Linked DNA regions of Homo sapiens: region 1 is linked to region 2. Evidence: promoter capture Hi-C in human tissues and cell types (Jung and others, 2019). All regions are on one chromosome and are shown on one strand. The core of a region is centred on a gene start or on the middle of the fragment in contact, and the rest is flanking DNA. Distances in the headings are between cores, read along the strand shown. Region 1 overlaps KLHDC8A (kelch domain containing 8A). Region 2 holds the start of TMCC2 (transmembrane and coiled-coil domain family 2).

Region 1 (7,064 bases), core at 3,032-5,531, 110 kb after region 2:
AAGCTACCTTAAAACTAGTTCAGAGCTGGGGAAAGACAGCAACAGCAGTCTATCCTCTCGGTCAGAACTGCTCTACCTGCCTCCTGGAGATGGGGGTGGGGGGAGGTGGGACTCACAGGAGGGAGAGGTAGGAAATATTCCTGTGCCTTTCTTTGCCTGTGCAGTAAGTGAAGACTCTCTTCAGAGTCAGCTCTGCAGCTGGTGGAGTCATCTGTGCCTCTTACAGTTTTCTGAGATTGGTAGGATTTGGAGCTATAGAGAGGTCAACTTAGAGCCCCAAGGCCAGACTCCACTGGTTGCTAACAGGAGCTGACATTCTTGGAAGTAGCCCCGACTGCTTGGACAAGATCATTCCTCATGTTAAGAGTGAAGTGATATGGTCCAGGGCAAAGGTACTGAGCCCAGAGACAGCTAGGAGTCAGAGACACACAGGGCCTCCACTGCGTCACTCAGACCCTGGTTGACACCTCCCACGGCGAGGAGGCAGTTCTTGACGACTATGCTGGAGCAGGCACAGCGGGGTGTGGGCATGGCAGGGAGGATCTCCCATTTGTTCTTCCCTGGGTGGAATGCTTCCGCCGTCTCCAGGACAGTGGGTTGATTCCCTGAAAGTGTCAAGGGAATCAGACCTTACAAAGGAGTCCAACCACCAATCCATGCCCCACGGTCACCCCACCTCCCTCCCTTCGGCACCCACAAGCAGAAGCCAAGCAAGGTCAACTTCCTTGGCTACAGGATTACTCCCTTTACTAAGCCAGTGGCTTTTGTCAAGCAGCCACTTTGTCCCTCCTACCGTCTTCCTGTCTCTTTAAGAGTAAGCTTTCTTTCCCTACCCATTGCTTTTTACCAGAGCTTTCTAGCACACTACTGCCTCACTGCTGCCCTTTCCTAAAAAAGCTACTGACATGGTCTAGTTGACACGGTTCCTTCATGCCTGAGTAAAGTGGGAGTTTGTCCACACTAAGTAGACTTGGGGTACCTGGAAGCCCTGCTGCCTGGATCTCTCTTCCTTGATGATGGGGAACTTCTCGCTTTAGAGTCCCTCCTTCAAAATACTAGTAATCTCTGGCAGAGTTAATACATCAAACCCAAGATTCATCTGTTGAACTTATTTAATCAGATTGCTTTCCTGTTCCACGATTGGGCTGGAACAGGATAAGAGACTGGTCAGAGGAGGACCAAGGCTAATCCCCTCCACAGTTTGTCTCCAGTCATTCCCGTTTAGGGATCTGTGCTCAGTAAGCCTGTGCTGCACGGCTACGGGTGTCCCTTATTCTCTCTGCGTCACAGTTTCCCTGTGTAGGAGGACAGAAAGGCCACACCTGGGGCCCACAGTGGATAGGTAATATCTAGGCTGGAAGAAAGGGAGTGCTTCGAATTTTTTGGAGTATAGTGGTAGGCAGGTGGTCTGCAGGGAGTCAGTACCCTTTCCTGCATATGCAAAGTGCCAAGGATCCACTGAGCACCAGAACCACAATAAATTCCAGCGTGAAAGCGCCATCCTTACCAAGTCCCCCAGCCACTATGACCCGTCCACTCAGAGAGCCAGCCACAAAATCTGCCCGCCGCTTCTTGAGGAAGAACGATCGTTCCATCTTCAGCCATCCCCCTATAGGCCATGGATAATGGTGGGTTATATAGACAGAATAAGATACAGACCACTCCCACCAAATGCAGATTGTGGCCCAAATAGCTTTCACCCTGGGCAGTGTCTTCACTCTATTTATCCTTTATGCTTGGGGAGTACACAGTTCCTCCTGCTGTTTCAAATTCTCTGTGGCTTCCCCCTCTCCCATGCTTGCTGCTCTGTAAGGCATCATCATCCCCTACAATGAATCACCTTGACTTCTGGTTAGGAGGCTAATAGAGGCAGTGAGGGAGGAGTCAGGATCCTTCTGTTTCTCCATCAGTAAAAAGTAAGAAAAATCCCTCTCTGACCTGGTCCTGTGTGAATATTGTAAGAAAAGACAATATAGGTAGAAAAGGGGCTTTGATAAAAACCAACCAAGCAAAAAGGGGACCTATACCAATGAAGGAATTTGATTCCAAGAGTAGCCCTGAGTGGAGAGGGGTGCTGAGACTTCTGAGAAGCTTGCCCAGCTGGGTAAACGGCCCTGGAAGATGGCTGGAATAGGGGTAAGGGATGGGGAGCCAGCCAGAAGGGCAGTGGGCAGCCAGAGCTTCCTGGGGAAGGTGACCAGCTCACCCTGTTCCATGTCGAACACGTCCATCGTCCGCAGGAACTTGGGCTGCCGGTAGAGGCGACCTTGCCGCAGGCCTCCTAGGCTGTACAAGTGGTTGTCCAGGGTCACAAAGCTGGAGAAGGCCCGCTTATAGGGAATGTTGGGAAACTTGGTCCAGGAGCGAGTCTCGATGTCAAAGACCTCGAAAGCGTTGACCGCGTACTTGGACTGTCGTCCCCCTGGGGGCCAGAGCAGGATAGAGGTTGGGCAGAAGGGTTGTCCCTGAGGACAGCGACAGTGAAAAGGGTTTCCCCTTTTGACAGTTACTCATTCATACAGGAAGCTCCCGGTGGGCTGGGCAGTGTGATTATCCCCAGTGCCGAGGAGATGCTCAGCACACAGGCACTGCTTCCTATGGGAACTGAGCCAAGGGAAGGAAGGAGGGTAGGTATAGAACAGTAACCTGTCCTTACCCAGCACGTAGATCTTGGAGCCTCGGAGGAAGGAGGTGGCAGCATATCTCGGGGTGGGCATGGGTGCTAGGGACACCCACATGTCCTTCAGCATGTCATAGTGTTGGAGGTGGTTGTGTGGACGTAGGTCCAGGCCCATCCCGCCTGCCGCATATACTCGGTAATCTAAGAAGAAAGGCCATACATGCCCCTGGCTTAGCTCACAGGTACAGCAAGACAGGCCCACCAGCATCTATTGCCTCCCATGGCCAGGCCAAGCTTTCAACCACTGCTCAGCCAGAGTGAGTCATATCTGTATCAGTGTGGTTGATAGCACCATTCAAAGAAGTTCCTGCTATAGCTAAGCCTGAGAGTCTGTTTCTTTTTTTTTATTTTTATTATTATTATTTTTTTAGATATGGTCTCATTCTGTCATCCAGGCTGGAGTGTGGCATAATCATGGTTCACTGCAACCTTGACCTCCTGGGCTCAAGAGATCTTCCCATCTCAGCCTCCCAAGTAGCTGGGACTACAGGTCCATGCCACCACACCTGACTAATTTTTGTATTTTTTGTAGAGACAGGGTTTTGTCATGTTGCCCAGGCTGGTCTCGAACTCCGGGGCTCAAGCAATCCTCTTGCCTCGACCTTCCAAAGTGCTGGGATTGCAGGTGTGAGCGACTGTGCCCAGCTGCCTGGGTCTTTTGAAGCCATGGTACGACTACACGCCCTAGTCTTCCTTAGTGTCCAGCCCTTTGGCTAAGCCTGAAACACTGCGTGAAGTTTAGGCCTGGAAAACCCTTTGCAGGTCTTATCCCCTTCACTGTCCTCCCTGGGCAGCCAGAGGGGAAGCCAAAGAGGAGAGGTATTCTTTTTTTTTTGAGACAGAGTCTTGTTTTGTTGCCCAGGCTGGAGTGCAATGGTGTGATCTCAGCTCACTGCAACCTCTGCCTCTCGGGTTCAAGCGATTCTCCTGCCTCAGCCTCCAGAGTAGCTGGGATTACAGATGCCTGCCACCACACCTGGTATTTTTAGTAGAGACGGGGTTTCACCGTGTTGGCCAGGCTGGTCTCAAACTCCTGACCTCAGGTGATCCACCTGCCTTGGCCTCCCAAAGTGTTGAGAATACAGGCATGAGCCACCACGCCTGGCTTCAATGAGTAGAGATATTCTTCTGATGCCCTTTCCCCAGGCATTCACAAACTGGCATTTTTAGATATGGCAGGGGCCTTTAGAAATAAGATGAGTCATGCTGTCACTGGCCTATGGGACACTGGACTGCTGCTGGTTCTGTGTCTGCCAGCCCCATTGGGGAATGCCATCTTCCTTCACAAATTGGGAAACTTGTGGGATCCAGGAGTCACTTCAACTAAATGAGATAGGGCTAGGGGTGAATGAGGGTGAAGCTTTGGAGAGAGTACTGGTCCCTTTAAGAAACCCTGCCCAGGAAGTGAGCTGGGATACTTTGAGAAGTGAGTCTCCTCTCATTCTCTACTACTCTTGACTGTAGGTGGCCTTTCAAAGGACTTCACTACACCAGAGAGGATGGGCAAGGCATCTGTGTTTCCCTGGGTCCCACCCCAGGACCTCCCAGGCCTCTCTTTCTCAGGGAGCCACCCCTGCCCGGGATTCTGTCTGCCAGCAGCCAGTCCTCAATGCTTCTGGCTCCAGGAGGCCTTTATTCTTAAGGTGATTGTAGGGATGAGTACTATTTCCTCCTACTTTCCAATCTTATTGGAAAAAAAAAAAATGCCAACCCTAGCCTGAGGCTGGAAGACGGTGCCTGCTAATGAGGAATTCACCTTGCACAAGATCCACCCCTCCCATCCTGTGTTACTTGAAACTCCTCCTCCTGGGAATCCTCCCATCCACTCCTCACTACTGTTTTTGTGCCCAATTCTTACTCATCCTTTCAGACCCATCTGGGCGTCCCTGAACTACAAGCCTGGGTCGACAGCACCGGCTCAGTGCCTTCTGTTACCCTATTCCATCACCCTAATTGCCACCTGTTACTGAATAATCTTTGTTTCTTTTTCTTTTTTTTTTTGATACGGAGTCTTGCTCTGTCACCCAGGCTGGAGTGCAGTGGCGCGATCTCGGCTCACTGCAAGCTCTGCCTCCCAGGTTCACGCCATTCTCCTGCCTCAGCCTCCCGAGTAGCTGGGACTACAGGCGCCCGCCACTGTGCCAGGCTAATTTTTTATATTTTTAGTAGAGACGGGTTTCACCATGTTAGCTGGGATGGTCTTGATCTCCTGACCTCATGATCCGCCCGCCTCAGCCTCCCAAAATGCTGGGATTACAGGCGTGAGCCACCGCGCCCGGCCAATCTTTGTTTCTTTCAATAGACTGTAGGCCGTTGAGAATTTGTTAAATCTACAGCCCCAGCATCTGGCACAATGCCTGGCACACAGGCATGTAAATGCTTATTAAACTAACTGCAGAACCCATTCAGTGCCATAGTAAGAGCACAGACTCAATCATCACTATCTGTGTCACCTTGGGCCAGTGTTTTAACTAACTCTTTGGGCCTTACACTGCTTCTCTCTAAAATCAGAGTAATACTAGCACTTACCTGTATACAAAGCACAAATGGTAAGGATTCAATGAATGTTAGTTCTTAATCTTTCAAGACCATTTACTGAGGCCTGGGATGAAGATGTGCTCTTTCCCTCCCTTGCTCTCCGTGGGCCTCCAGGCCTTCCATCCTTCTTACTGGGAGGTCACAGAAGCCCCACTGGCCATGCTGCCCTGGGGGATTCTGCACTAGAGTTTCTCTCTAGTTACTTTCATTGGTCAGATCCAGGCTCCTGAAGGCAGGGAACAGATCTTCCGCCTCTTTCCTTCCCTCCTGGAGCCTGGCACTGTGCTGGGGACAGAGCAGGTGCTCAAGAAATACTGGTTCCCAATCTATAGTAGACTTGACATGCAGCTAGTATGGTTTAGCAAAAGAGGGAGGGAGGAAGAGGAGACGGAGGGAAGGTTGCATCCCACTGCAAGCCTGTGCTGCTCAGGTGTGTCTGAACTTGGTGTCTCCTAATTCCCATTGAACCATCTCCCACAAAACCCTTTGTGTTTTAGCAAAAGAGCTTTCGGAGCTCTAGGTTCTGGGCTGTACTAGGCGTGAAAAGAATGAAATGGGGGCTTTGAGAAAGGAAAATGAGAATCACAAAACCATGTAGTGAGGACATGCATGCCCTGAGGACTTAGTGAAACGCGGCCAGACATGAACCCTCAGGAACATTCTGGTCTCCACTGAGCGTCTCTGAGATTGGGAGGCAGAGGGGCAGGTTGAAGGTGGAAGAGGCCCCTGGAATCAGGTCCCAAAGCCCTCTCAGTGGGGCCTGGTGACGCTACAAGGATGGAGTGAGCATTGTCAGGACCCCAAATAGGTGTCTGGGGGTGGTGGCACCTGCAAGGCAAGGCAGGTTTCAGGGGCTGGGGTGTGGCGGCGGGAGGTGCAGGCATTTTGCTGAACGCATGGGGTCTGCAGAAATATGGCACTAAACTCCACAGCCCACAGCAAATGCCTGTTGGTTTCCATCTGTTTCCCTCCTGGCCCCCCACTTCCTTCTCTCTGGCCGCCCTCAGCCCTGGCCCCACTTGCCTTTGGCCGTGACAGAAATGCCCATGGCGGCCTCACGCAGCATGCTCCTCTTCTTCCACTTGCCCTCATCGATGTTGTACATCTCCACGACCTTCAGGGGCAGCTGATTGGTGCCCACGCCCCCAATCACCATGATCCGCTTCCCCAGGGCGGTGACGGCCACCCCCGCCCGGGCTGTGGGCAGCCGGGGCAAGGCGGTCCACTGGTCGGCCTCCGGGGAGTAGACCTCGAAGCAGTCCATGGGGACGCCGTTGTCGTCACATCCCCCGATGGCATAGACCTGGCCCCCGGTCTCCAGCAGGGAGCAGTAGACCCGGCGGCTGGGCAGTGGCGCCAGGCGCTTCCACTGGAAGTCCTTGACGTTAGGCACCTCCATGGCAGCCTTGGGGAGCGCCCGGGCGCCGGGAGAGGTGCGAGCGCGGGGGTCCACCGGCTACTTGGCGCCGGCTCCCACGGCCCCTATCGCCACCTCCATCTGGCTCCCGAGCGCCGGACCCAGCCAGACCCCGGCCAGTGCTTCACCGTGCCCCGAGTCTCAGCGGTCCGGCGGCGTCCACGCCTGGCCCTGCGGGGGGAACGCGGTGAATCAAGGGCAGCTGGGGCCACGCGCCCTCCGGCGGGCAGCGGATGGGCTCCGCAGCCCCTGGTCAACTTCACTGGGAAGACGCGGCGGCGGAGGGCGCCCCCCGGGGGCAGCACCACACCCTGCACTGCTTGGTCCCCGCCCCCTCCCCACCCGCTGCTCGGACACTGCCGAAGCAAGCCGCAGGCCGGGGCTTTCAGGGGTTCGGGGTGCCGGGCAGTCCCCGGGCGGAGGAAGGAG
Region 2 (7,231 bases), core at 3,192-5,691:
ATCCTACCTGAAATGAGAAGCAGGAACTTCTGGCTTTTTCATATTACAGATAGGAGATTCACCCACCCCAGGAATGAAACAGACATTGGAATCTCCTGTGTAAGTCTTAGGGATGCTGTGAGAGAAATGATCACAAAGTTAGTAATCTGGGTTTGCTTACTCCTTTAAAACATTGCCAGTTTGGGCCAGGCGCCGTGGCTCACACCTGTAATCCCAGCACTTTGGGAGGCCGAGGTGGGCGGATCACCTGAGATCAGGCATTCAAGACCACCCTGGCCAACATGGAAAAACATTTTTAGTCTCTACTAAAAATTAGTCCGCAAAAAATTAGTCAGGCTTGGTGGCAGATGCCTGTAATCCCAGCTACTCGGGAGGCTGAGGCAGGAGAATTGCTTGAACCCAGGAGGCAGAGGTTGCAGTGAGCCGAGATCACGCCACTGCTCTCCAGCCTGGGCGACAGAGCGAGACTCCATTTCCAAAAAAAAAAAAAAAAAAAAAATTGCCAGTTTGGTATCAGAGATTCTGTGTTTTGAATGAAATAATGTATACAATTTCTGCATAAATATAGTAATGGCAGCTTTATTTCTAAAGGCAAAAAATAGAGAAAATTATGTCAAAGGATGAAGTGGATAGTATGTTAAACCATGATATCTTCAGTTGACAGAACATTAAGCAGTCATTTAAAATGTTTACTTAAACATATGGAATATGGCTAATAATATATGGAATAATATGGGAAAATGTAATAATGTTGAAAATGCTGCTGAGTACATTTCAAGTAAAAAATAGGATAAAATTTAGTTTAGGCTAATAAGAGCTTTCTCCAATCAGGAGTGATATAGAGCCTTCCTGGTCCTCTCTTCCTTTTACAATAGCCAGTAAAAAGCCTGTATTTAGGTGGTGGGATTGTGACAACATCAACAATCCAGACAATCTTCTTAAGGATTATTTGCATAGTTTACTCTTCCTAATCCAACAGAACTCAATTTCTTTTAAGGAGTGCACTGCGTGGAAGTGGTCATCTCCAACAAAAAGGGAAGAGAATTACATTAACAAAGGAGTATATGCAATGATATTGGTATCAAAATTCAGTGAGCAAAATTATTATATCTAGTCCCTCTAGAGAGTACTTTTACCTTTGAATCACTCTACTCAGTATGTTAAATCTTAAAATAGCGCACTGACAACCACTTATCCATTTGATGTTTAAATGTTTTTTTAAGTATTGCTATGGAATAGGACATAGAATTGCCTTGGATAATCTGCAAGCTTCTTACTATTGGCAAAAAGAGAAGCCTTTTATTTTTCAGACCTAATTGCTTTTACAAAAAGAAAGAAAACAAAACAAAACCCTACTCTACACTTTGTTAATCTTGGCACCTTATCCTCTATAATGAAAGCTTCAACCATTTATCAAACTAAATGAACTGGGTGTTGACAAGAGAGCAGGATTCCATAATTCTGCCCTTTATACTCCTTGTGTGTATACTTATTGGTTTAGCAAATTTGATACTACCAGAGTGCTCCCTTTCATTAGTTTAACTGGGATTTCTGTTCACAAAAAGCATTCAGCTTATTGGGATAATTCTCTTTCTCATATGGTATATGGGGGGCTTGGACAAGTTAATTATTTTTGTTTCACTTAGTTTTACTGCACATATACCATGTGTCAAGCATTTTCACGTGCATTATCTACCTTCATCCTCACAATAACCAGTGAAGATAGATAGTATTAGCCCTGGTTTATAGATGAGAAAACCGAGGGTGAAAGAGGTTAAGCTCACAAGAAGTAACCGAACTAGAATGCTTACATGAATTTTCTGACACCAAGACCAATGTTCTTCCCACTAAATCATGTTATTTCCTTGTAATTAACTAGGTGTGCCAAAACAGAATGGAAATGCTACTCCTACATAGAAAATATAATCACTTGCATTGTGTATCTGCAAACTTTTGTCTAATCTTGAATATCAAAACATAATTTGTGCCTATATTTTCCCAAAGAAACGTAGAATGATAGAATAATCTAATGCCGTAAACAAAATTTCAACCAACCAAAGTACTTTCAAGTTCTGATTTTCTTAGGTGCTCAAGAATTTGCTGCGGCTAATGAAAATTTGCCATTGGCTTCAAACTGGTGGTTATAGGTCACTCAGGTCTCTACACAGACTTCTCAGCCAAACTTCTTTGGCAGTAGCACACTTATTCCATAATATGACACTCAGTGAAAGTCAGAAATTGGTGGGACACATTTGAACTCCTGAAGATAGAAGCATTGGAGTGAAATGTGCAACACTTCTGAAACTGGATGACATCTGTGGTTATAGCTATGGCCCTCATTCTTTGCTAGGCAATGTCCAAGTGCTTTACATATATTACCCAACACCCTGTATGGTAGGTACTGTCATTATCCCTACTTCCAAATAATTCAGAAACTGGAGCATGAAGAGGTTAGATAACGTGTCCCCACTCACATGGTCAGTGAAGAGCAGAGCTAGGATTTGTCCCCTATCTGGCCATAGAGCCTGAGCTCTTAACCATTATGCTATGATGCCTCTCCAAAATGGAATGTAAAGTATTAGCTGATTTTATGAAACACACCACAGACTTTTTTGCTGACCTGAATCACACCTTGCAAATATGACGACAAGTAGAAAATGTGGCTGTCATGCTGTATGTATATGATAATATAAAAATCAAACTTAAGACCAACTTTTATCTAGTATAGAAATGAGGCATAATTCAAAATTATAATGCTCTCTGCTTCCTTAAACGAAACCAAATCCCTTCCTTAAACCAAATCCCTTCACTTTCCTTCGGCTTCGAGTCAGGTCATGAACATGTGTCAATGCATGCTCACCATTTGCTGGCCACCGCGTGCCCCTCAAGACTTGCTCAGGGTCTTTGGGGCCGCTGCACTTATCTGGGCCAAGTCAGGCAGGGAGCAGTATATTCCTCTGCTTGAAACCTTGCACCATGGGAACCTGCCCCCACCGGTTCTGTCTAGTCCTGCCCACGGTCTACACTGGCATCCTGCCATCCCCTCACCATTGAAAATGCTAAATAAAGGCTTATAGCTTTGTGTTTCCACATTGTGCTCGATTCTTTGTGGTAGATGTGGGGGGTGGTTCCACATTCCCAGCCCATCCTAAATTCCTATCTTCTAAAAGTGGAGCTGCCTAGTTTAGAAAGTAGCTGCTTGGCTGAAGTAAATTCTTAACAAATTAGTCTCTTCTAGGATACACATTAAAATGAGTGGTTGGAATGGGAAGAAGACAGAACAGAAAGTCAAGAAACTCCGACTAGTGAGACTGAAGTGAGGCTACAATGGCATGATGGGTGCGAAAGAGATTGGTAAACTGTAAAATCCTTTAGAGACCGTGTGGCCCCTTCACTGTCTAGGCCAGTGGTTCTCAAAGGGTAGTGTGTGTCAGAATTACCTGGAGGGCTTGTCAAAACACAGATTTCTTGGCTCACTACTTCTGATTCTCTAGGTCTGGCTGGTGGCCAAGAATTTGCATTTCTATCAAGTTCCCGTGTGATGCTGAAGTTGCTAGTCCAAGGATCACAATTTGTGAACCACTGGTTGCTGGATGAGTAAAATCCATTGTGTCCACAGGAGGCATACAATAGACACTCAGATGGGGTTGTTATTATTACTACTCTCCATATCTTGGTAACCCCAACGTTTGCTCTCTTCTGCTTCCAGATTACTCAGCACAGTTTGGCTGAGATTTATGCAAAGAGAGACAGCATTCCCTTTCCACACATCTATATGTAGCAACCTCCTGCCATTAATACCCTTTCTTATTTAAAAGCTGCTTCACAGTTTGTAAGGAACTCTCACATACGTTATTGTGTTTTTATATGAAATTCTTCCCAATTTCTGAGCATAAATTATGCCAAGTAAAGTCTCATTAAGAAATAATGCACTTAAAGCGGGGGACGGGGCGATGAGGAGAGAACGCCCCCTCCCCTTGGCATTTGCAGCTCTGAATGTAGGCATAGATTTAACTCAGACCAAGTATCCTAGAGGGGATAGGTGTCTCCCTTATGGCTAGAAGGTGCAAAGTTAAGAGCCCCAAAAAGCAGTGATAATAAACATCCCTCTTGTGCTCCTTCTCGCCAAATAAAGCGAATGGGTGGAGGAAATCCTGGGCGAGCCCTCCTCGGCAGGGTCCCTCAAGCTGGAGCCGAAACTGCGACTCCCACGCCCGCCGCCCCCGCCCCTGAACTGCAGCCCGCTCTCTGCAATGCAAAAACGCAGCAGCATCGTCCTCCAGCCCTCTCCTGGGGGATCGCACGGTGCAACCAACCCCAAAAACGAAGCTGCGCGACGCCCCCTCAGCCCCGCGGGCTTCCCATTGGCCGGTTGCCGCTGTCACTCCCTCCTAGCCTCGCCTTCCCGCTCCCGGGCGGAGGCAGCCGGGCGGGGTAGGTTGCGCGCTCGCCGCGGGCTCGGGCCGCGGTCGCGGCTTTGCGGCAGGCTGCGCGTCAGGCGGGGAGCGGGGCGCGCGGGCCGGGGAGGGGGCCGGGCGCGCTGCGGGCTCCGCGGCCGGACCATGCGGGGCAGGGGCCGGTTGCAGGGCCGGGGGCTGCAGCCGGCGCCGATGGCGGCCGACTAGGACCTGCCCGGCCGGCTGCCCCGCGCCCCGCCTCGCCCCGCAGCCCGGCCGGCCGGGAGGGATGCGCTGTGCCGCCCAGCTCCTCTCCGTCCTGCCCATGCCCTGAAGCAGAAAGTTTGGGGGCCGGGGGTTGTCTCCCTTCTCCCTCCTGCAATGACTGCCCAAGGACTCTTGCTGCCCAGCCTCGACTGTGACCTGTCTTCGCTCCCCAGGTCGAAATGAACTATTCCAAGCTATAACCAAGGCTCCCCCTTCTCGCCCCTCCCTCACCCGCCTTTAAGAATTTTTTTTTTAATTCAAGAAATTGTGGTCTGCCATCTCCCCTCCTTGTTAATAATTTAGACCCCAGGCCTCATATGAATATAAGAGGGGGTGCGGTCTTCCCCAAGACGGCGCGCTGGAAGGACAGATTCCCCTTGCCGACCCACATACACCATGAAGAGGTGCAGATCGGACGAGCTGCAGCAACAACAGGGCGAGGAGGATGGAGCTGGGCTGGAAGATGCCGCTTCCCACCTGCCGGGCGCGGACCTCCGGCCTGGGGAGACCACGGGTGCTAACTCTGCTGGCGGGCCAACTTCAGACGCCGGCGCTGCCGCGGCGCCCAACCCAGGTCCCCGAAGCAAGCCTCCTGATTTAAAGGTGAGCGCAGACCATCCCCCCGGCAAGCCCAGCCCGCGACTTAGCTCTCGCCACCCCACGCAGAAGTGCTTTAACAGGATAAAAGTGAGGGGGGAAGCCAGGCAAAGGTCAGAGAGGATGAGCGGATGCTTTGCTGGCACCCCAGGGGGGACGTCAGGTACCATTTATGCCTCTGTCTTTCAGCTCCGTGTCAGGTCTCTGTGTTTGTTCCCCATTATTCAGCAAGCGTTTTAGTGACTCACCCATCCGAGATTGTTTGAATAATGTGTGAAGTGTTATTCGCAGACAAAGGGCTGGAGAAATCCAAGATGCTAACCAAAAAGTGGACAGCAGGTGACCATTAGTTTTCCTTGCTGAGTAAGTCTCTACCCATTGGGATCTTTGTGTGTGTGTGTGTGTGTGTGTGTGTGTGTGTGTGTGTGTGTGTATGTGTGTGAGACGGAGTCTCGTTCTGTCGCCCAGGCTGGAGTGCAGTGGCGCGATCTCGGCTCACTGCAACCTCCACCTCCTCGGTTCAAGCGATTCTCCTGTCTCAGCCTCCAGAGTAGCTGGGATTACAGGCACCCGCCACCACGCCCGGGTAATTTTTGTATTTTTAGTAGAGACGGGGTTTCGCCATGTTGGCCAGGCTGGTCTTGAACTGACCTCAGGTGATCTACCCGCCTCGGCCTTCCTAAGTGCTGGGATTACAGGCGTGAGCCACCGTGCCGGGCCCCATTGGGATCTTTGAGCGCTTTCCTGGATGAAGCTCAGTTTGCCGATCTGTGAAGGGGCGGGGGGGGGGGGGTGGTGGCGGGGGCGGGGGGGGAAGGTGGATTTCCTGCCGTTAGGTGGAGCCAGAGGTTAAGATAGTGCTTGGAGATCTCTGCCTGCCTGCTGAACCAACCCCCAGGGTGGAGAACTGACAGGTGGTGGAGCAGTGCTTGGGCTGGTTTGGGGCCTCAGTTCAAGTTGCATACATGCTGAGCCAGCAGCTAGAACCAGAAGCCGAAAGAACTGTTCACATGGAGCTGTTTATTTTCCGGCCTGAGGTTGCCGAGACAATTGGCGAGCTGTCTTGAATATATCTCTATCAATTAAAACAGCAGCTGAGATAAATAATGCACCTTTGCCGGAACTGCCACAGGGACTGCAGGCTCAGGCTTCTCAAGCCAGCTCACCGTCCAGCTGAGCGAGATGTCAGCCCAAGGAAGGAACTTAGATGCCTTGGAAATTGATGCCTCACAGTTATTTTCTCCAGAGAAGGTGCAGGGTCTGGGCTAGGGAAACGGAAAGGACTCTGTTGCATTTAATAAAGCCTATATCCTATGGCAGCAGCCACTAAGGAGCTCACCAGAATAAGCCAATGCCATTCCTCATTTGGCCTGAGCAGCTCAGAGTCAGGAAGTCAGAGCGCAGGTGAGTGTGTGTGCTCTTACCTGTGTATGTTACCTGTCTGTGTGCCTTGGGGAGGAGTGAAAAGGGGGACGACTAGGTTATTGTTGTGTGTGTTTTTTAAACTTTGCAGTAATTATTCAAATCTGAACTCTGGTTCTGCCGCCGTCCTTTTCAGAGCTTCGTGGCTAGACTTATGTCTAGAGGATCTCTGTGGGATAGGCTCTCTCTGCACAAGAAGCTTGAGCTTTTGCCAGGCCCAGGGAGTCCTTGGTGTTTATCTCTGCTGTCACCCCCGAGTCCATCCCATGTGGTCAGGAGGTGTAGTTCCTGTTTTAAGTGAGATGGTGAGGGGGAAGGGGTCTCTTGAATGCTGTTGTGGGGAGGAGGCTAGCCTTCTGCTGCAGACTTCAGCCTCATTCTGAGCCGGTCCAGATGAGTCTGGCCAGCAAACCCTGAATCTTTGACCAATGAGACCCTCAGCTGAGTCTGTGAGAGGCAGCTTTGGAAATTCCCCACTCTCCAACTCAGGACAGCAGTGGAAACTGCTTTCTCCATTTATTCCCCCAGTTGCCTTCATGAGGAAGATG

What was found. The method cuts DNA at HindIII sites, captures the fragments that hold promoters and counts their contacts. A contact is called where the count stands out against the background at its distance.
Region 1: a fragment that was not itself captured here is called in contact with the fragment with the promoter of TMCC2 in region 2 in 6 of the 25 tissues and cell types used here (bladder, liver, lymphoblastoid cells and 3 more).

What each region holds. Positions count from the first base shown.
Region 1 is chr1:205,336,988-205,344,051 of GRCh38, forward strand. It overlaps KLHDC8A (kelch domain containing 8A), which reads right to left. Exons shown (of 6, transcript NM_018203.3): 2 at 6,242-6,806; 3 at 2,657-2,821; 4 at 2,207-2,422; 5 at 1,508-1,609; 6 at 1-605. The coding sequence starts at 6,617. The coding sequence ends at 412. Among named protein-coding and RNA genes, the nearest start is that of KLHDC8A, 16 kb to the right of the region's middle. RefSeq lists a silencer at 2,943-2,992 and an enhancer at 6,290-6,850. The HindIII fragment of the contact is 5,653 bases long and covers 1,456-7,064 here.
Region 2 is chr1:205,223,505-205,230,735 of GRCh38, forward strand. TMCC2 (transmembrane and coiled-coil domain family 2) reads left to right here and starts at 4,442. Exons shown (of 5, transcript NM_014858.4): 1 at 4,442-5,267. The coding sequence starts at 5,061. RefSeq lists an enhancer at 4,093-4,232 and a silencer at 4,363-4,542. The HindIII fragment of the contact is 10,382 bases long and covers 72-7,231 here.